2 separate regions of the Homo sapiens genome follow, and region 2 is linked to region 1. The links are contacts of gene promoters, found by promoter capture Hi-C in human tissues and cell types (Jung and others, 2019). All regions are on one chromosome and are shown on one strand. Each heading gives the region's core, a stretch centred on a gene start or on the middle of the fragment in contact. The rest is flanking DNA. Distances are from core to core; before and after follow the strand shown. Region 1 holds the start of HIPK4 (homeodomain interacting protein kinase 4). Region 2 overlaps PLD3 (phospholipase D family member 3).

Region 1 (2,847 bases), core at 177-2,676:
GCAGACAGAGGACTGGGCATGGTGGCTCACACTTGTAATTCCAGCACTTTGTTGAGGCCAAGGTGGGCAGATTGCTTGAACTCAGGACTTTGAGACCAGCCTGGGCAACATGATGAAATCCTGTTTCTACCAAAAAACACAAAAATTGGCTGGGCGTGGTGGCTCACGCCTGTAATCCCAGCACTTTGGGAGGCTGAGGCAGGTGGATCACAAGGTCAGGAGTTTGAGACCAGCCTGGCCAACATGGCGAAACTCCATCTCTACTAAAAATACAAAAATTAGCCGGGCATGGGTGGCGGGCACCTGTATTCCCAGCTACTCAGGAGGCTGAGGCAGGAGAATCGCTTGAACCCGGGAGGCGGAGGCAGTGAACCAAGATCATGCCATCATCACCCCGTCTCTGATAAGTACAAAAAAAAAATTAGCTGGGCGTGGTGGCGCATCCCTGTAATCCCAGCAACTCGGGAGGCTGAGGCAGGATAATCACTTGAACCCAGGAGGCGGAGTTGCAGTGAGCTGAGATTGTGCCACTGCACTCAAGCCTGGGTAACAGAATGAAACTCCGTCTCAAAAATAATAATAATAATAATTTTAAAAAATTAAAAAAAAAATCTAGGGCTGGAAGAAGCTGGGAAAAAGACAAGGAACTAGGGACGCAGCCACCCTAGACGACCCCTACTCACCTTGACCCTGAAGGGGCAGCGGGTCTGGTCCACCAGCATGATGTTCTCAGGCTTGAGATCAGCGTGGATGATAGCCAGCTCCTTGAGCCGGGCCAGGGCTGTGAGCACCTGCAGGGTGACTGTACGGATGTGGCGGGCGGGGAGGGGCGCGAAGTTGTTCTCCTTCTGGAACTCGAAAAGGTTTTGCTCCAGCAGCTCAAAGACCAGGTAGAACTTGAGGGCGTCATGGAAGAACTCAAGGAAGCGGATGACGTGGGCCTCTTCAGGGTCTAGGCCTCGCATGCAGTGCAGCAGCTTCAGCTCGTTCTTGATGATGCGGTTGCGGTAGGCGTCATTCTTGAGGATCTTGATGGCCACCATCTCGCCCGTGCTCCGCCGCCAGCCCTTGGCTACCTCCCCGAAGGTCCCCTTGCCCAAGACCTCGATGATGTCGTAGCAGTCAGTCTCCGACTGGATGGTGGACATGGTGCCGCTGCTGCCAGACACCGCCCTGCCCAGGCCCCTGTACCACTGGCTCTGCCGCCCAGGCCTCCCGCCTGGCTGCTGACACAGCAGGCCCCCCAGTGGGGGAAAGAGAACCGCACTCGTGTCTCCTCCTATGAGGTTGGCCCCTGCTTCCCTGGCACCCCCAAACCCCCAGGCCACACTGTCAGTCTGCCAGGGGCTGCACCCCTCCCCAGAAACCCTCCTGGCTTGGGATGAGGGGCCCCAGGCCCCACCGAATGGGTTCCAGCGCTGTTGAGTGGCTCTGGTTCTGTTGTTGGAGACCTGAGCCCTGGCTGGAGTGGGGGTGGGGTACCAGGCTGGGCCCCCTCCCCCGCCCAGTGGCGGAATCTTGCAAAGACCAAACAGGTGAAGTGTTGACAGAGGGGGGTCTAATCGTGGGCCTTGGGCATACAGGAATGGGGATAAGGCAGGAGTGAGGAAAGGTGGGCTTCTTGAGCTTGGGAGATGTGATGTGTGTGTGTCTGTGTTCAGAAAACTCCTGTCCCAGTCTGTGGCTACTGTGGGGTGAGGTTGTAAAAGGCCCTGAATGCCAGGCTAAGGAGTTTGGATTCTGTTCTGAGGGCACTGGGGAGCCACAGAAGGGCTTTGAGCAGGGGAGGGCAGGGTCAGATATGAGTGTCAGAAAGTTACTGTATGAAAAGGGATAGGTTGGAGCGGGTAAGAGTGGAAGCCCCAAGCCAGGGAAAGAGTCCAGGACAGGGCACAGATGGGAGAGGTTGGGGAGGAGAGGGCGAGGCCAATGGATGAGACACTCAAAAGGCCAGGAGAAGCAGCCGTGAGACCGACGGTTTGAGGGAAAGGCGGGAGCTGTCTAAGAACGGGCCTAGGGCTCTGGGATGAAGGGGCAGTCCCCGAGAAATGGACATGGATAAGAAGCAGCTTGGGGGAGATGTTGAGGCCAAATTAGAAAATGTATTTATTTTTGGCTGGGTGCGGTGGGTCACGCCTGTAATCCCAGCACTTTGGGAGGCCAAGGAAGGCAGATCATAAGGTCAGGAGATCGAGACCATCCTGGCTAACACGGTGAAACTCTGTCTCTACTAAAAATACTAAAAATTAGCCAGGCATAGTGGAGGGCGCCTGTAGTCCCAGCTACTCGGGAGGCTAAGGCAGAAGAATAGCTTGAACCCGGGAGGTGGAGGTTGCAGTGAGCCGAGATTGCACCACTGCACTCCAGCCTGGGTGACAGAGCGAGACTCCATCTCAAAAAAAAAAAAAAAGTGTTCATTTTTATTTATCTTTTTAATTTTTTGTAGAAATGGGGTCTCACTATGTTGTCCAGGCTGGTCTCAAGTGATCCTCCTGGCCTCAAGTGATCCTCCTGCCTCAACCTTCCAAAGTGCTGGGATTGTAGACATGAGCCACCACTCCAGCCAGATTAGAATATTTAACAGCGGGCCGGGCTCGGTGGCTCATGCCTGTAATCCCAGCACTTTGGGAGGCTGAGGCAGGTGGATCACCTGAGGTCGGGAGTTCGAGACCAGCCTGACCAACATGGAGAAACCCCGTCTCTACTAAAAATACAAAATTAGCCGGGTGTGTTAGCACATGCCTGTAGTCCCAGCTACTCAAGAGGCTGAGGTCGGCAGGCTGAGGTATGAGAACTGCTTGAACGCGGGAGGTGGGGTTGCAGTGAGCCAAGATTGCGCCATTGCAC
Region 2 (2,847 bases), core at 191-2,690, 34 kb before region 1:
CCCAGGTCTCAAACTCCTGGGCTTAAGTAATCTCCCTGCTTTGGCCTCCTAAAGTGCTGGAATGACAGGTGTGAGTGAGCCACTGTGCCCAGCCATGTTATTATTATTATTTTATTTTTCATTGAGACACTGTCTTGTGTCACCCAGGCTGGTGTGCAGTGGTGCAAGCTCAGTTCACTACAACCTCTGCCTCCCGGGTTCCAGTAGTTCTCCTGCCTCAGCCTCCCAAGTACCTGGAATTACAAGTGCGTACCACCACGCCCTGCTAATTTTTGTATTTTTAACAGAGACAGGGTTTCGCCATGTAGGCCAGGCTGGTCTCGAGCTCCTGACCTCAAGTGATCCACCTGCCTCAGCCTCCCAAAGTGCTGGGATTACAGGTGTGAGCCACCGTGCCCGGCTGTGTTATTTTTGTTTTTGTGTTGTTGTTTTGAGACTGAGTCTCACTCTGTCGCCCAGGCTACAGTGCAGTGGCATGATCTCAGCTCACTGCAACCTCCGCCTCCCAGGTTCAAGCGATTCTCATGCCTCAGCCCCCTCAAGTAGCTGGGACTATAGATGCACACCACCACGCCCTGCTAATTTTTGTATTTTTAGTACAGATGGGGTTTCACCATGTTGGCCAGGCTGGTCTCGAACTCCTTACCTCAAGTGATACACCCACCTCGGCCTCCCAAAGTGCTGGGATTACAAGCATGAGCCACCATGCCCGACCCTGTTGTTATTTTTGAACTGGGACATAAGCCTTTGGCAGTTGTGATGCCACTGTCTCCCTCCCCTGCTTTATTTTTTTCCAAGGCACATTCCATGTATTTCACTCATTTATTTTCACTCCCTCACTCCCTTAGTAGAATAACATCTTTAAGAAGATTTTTTTTCCTTTTTTTTTTGTTTTTTGTTTTTTTTGAGACAGAGTTTCGCTCTTGTTGCCCAGGCTGAAGTGCAGTGGCGTGATCTCAGCTCACCGCAACCTCTGCCTCCCAGGTTCAAGTGATTCTCCTGCCTCACCCTCCCAAGTAGCTGGGACTACAGGCACGCGCCACCAGGGCCTGGCTGATTTTGTATTTTTAGTAGAGACGGGTTTCTCCATGTTGGCCAGGCTGGTCTCGAACTGCCAACCTCAGATGATCCGCCTGCCTCAGCCTCCCACAGTGCTTGGATTACAGGTGTGAGCCACCGTGCCGGCTCCTTTTTTTTTTTTTTTTTTTTTTTTTCCTGCAATCTCAGTTTCTGGAGCAGGGCTTGTCAGCAAGTCATTATTGATTAAATATTAGTTGAATTAATAGATTAATTAACTGGCCACTGAGCACCTGCTATGCACTTTCCTATGCTCCATGGTACTGGGGACATGGCAGTGAGTTAGATAGCCTGGACCTGCCGTCATAGGTCTCCCAGTCAAATAGGAGAGACGAACCCATCATTAGGCACTGCCAGCAGCAAGCACTGCCAGCTAATCACAGCACTGATTTTGAGCAGGAGTGGGACAGCTTAGATTTCTCTAGTTCCAATTTAGAAGTGTTCACCATTCATGATGCTTTCTTGGACCTATTTAATTGTTTTTCAGACTGACCGTCTTCTCTCCCTAGGAGGCATAGGCAGAGGGATCAGGGCTGGGAAAGGGAGGCCCAGGGGACTGTGTGAGCCCAGAGGGCTTCATGGAGGAGGTGGTATGTGAGCGGACAGAAATGAGCAAGGTGTGCTCGGCAGGGAAAGCAGCTGTGGGAGGGTCTGGTGATGAAAGTGTGGTTTTGGTTCAAGGAACTGAAAGATCATAAATATGGCTGGGGTGGGAAGAACGGTGAGAGAGTAGGCCAAAGAGGTCATTCAGGGAAGATCATTCAAGGCCCTGTCAGCCACAGTGAGGAGCTGAGACTGTGTACTGAGGACACCGGGGAGCCACAGAGTTTTTGAGCAGGAGAGGGATGTGTCAAATTCACGTGGAGGTCGGATTGCAAGGATTGAGTGGAGTCTGGAAGCCAAGGGAGGTGGCTGGAGTGGGGACCCAGGTGGGAGAGACTAAGTCAGAGCTTGTGGGGGAGGGCGAATTGGAGAGACCCTCACAGGACCAAGTCGACAAATGGTTGGGGTCCAGGACAAGGCCCAGGGCTGGGGGTAGTCAAGGAGAGCTTTCTGGAGGAGGAGGCACCAAGGCTGAGACCTGAAGGATGGGTTCAACAGCTCTTCTTGAAATGGGGACCTGGGGCAGGAAGATGGTAAGGACAGTTGGGGACATAGTAGGTGTGGGAGTCTGGGGACACCTTGAAGGAGGTATCTGGGGGGCCCTGGAACCTCTAGAGCTGGAGTCAGGGGAAAGGAGGAAACAAGACAGAGCTTTGGGTTGAGAAAGAGGGAATTGAAGCTGTAATGATGGGGGAAGGTCCACAGGGGCCTGTCCATGTAGGGCTCTGTAGGACATGGTAAGAAGTTTGTCCTTTGTCCTGGGGGCAATGGGGAGCCACAGAAGGATTTTGAGCAGGAGTGAGACAGCTTAGGGTTTTTAAGTTCCAGTTCAGAAGTGTTTATCATTCATGATGCTTTTTGGACCTATTTAATTGTTTTTCAGACTGACTGACTTCTCTCCCTAGGAGGGGCACTTATTTTAAAGGGTCCGTTGAAATAAAAGATCTAACTGCTGAAAATGAAAAATCAGTTTGCAAAACCAGTGTTCTGTTCCGTTTTCTGTAGACAATTGATGGTTCAGTCCAAAGAGGTCAGAAACAATTGATGGTTTAGTCCAAAGAGGTCTGTACCATCTAGTGAAAATCAGCACCATTAAACATGAGAACATTTCTGTTTTAAACCATTTGGAAGCCCCGTGAATTTTATTTTATTTTGTTATTTTTAAAA

The links. The method cuts DNA at HindIII sites, captures the fragments that hold promoters and counts their contacts. A contact is called where the count stands out against the background at its distance.
Region 2: a contact is called between a fragment that was not itself captured here and the fragment with the promoter of HIPK4 in region 1, in 7 of the 25 tissues and cell types used here (dorsolateral prefrontal cortex, lymphoblastoid cells, mesenchymal stem cells and 4 more).

Annotation. Positions count from the first base shown.
Region 1 is chr19:40,388,755-40,391,601 of GRCh38, forward strand. HIPK4 (homeodomain interacting protein kinase 4) reads right to left here and starts at 1,427. Exons shown (of 4, transcript NM_144685.5): 1 at 684-1,427. The coding sequence starts at 1,148. RefSeq lists enhancers at 780-1,329, 1,330-1,879. The HindIII fragment of the contact is 19,093 bases long and covers 1-2,847 here.
Region 2 is chr19:40,354,424-40,357,270 of GRCh38, forward strand. All of the region lies in intron 1 of PLD3 (phospholipase D family member 3), which reads left to right. Among named protein-coding and RNA genes, the nearest start is that of PLD3, 7.2 kb to the left of the region's middle. RefSeq lists an enhancer at 1,490-1,679. The HindIII fragment of the contact is 9,182 bases long and covers 1-2,847 here.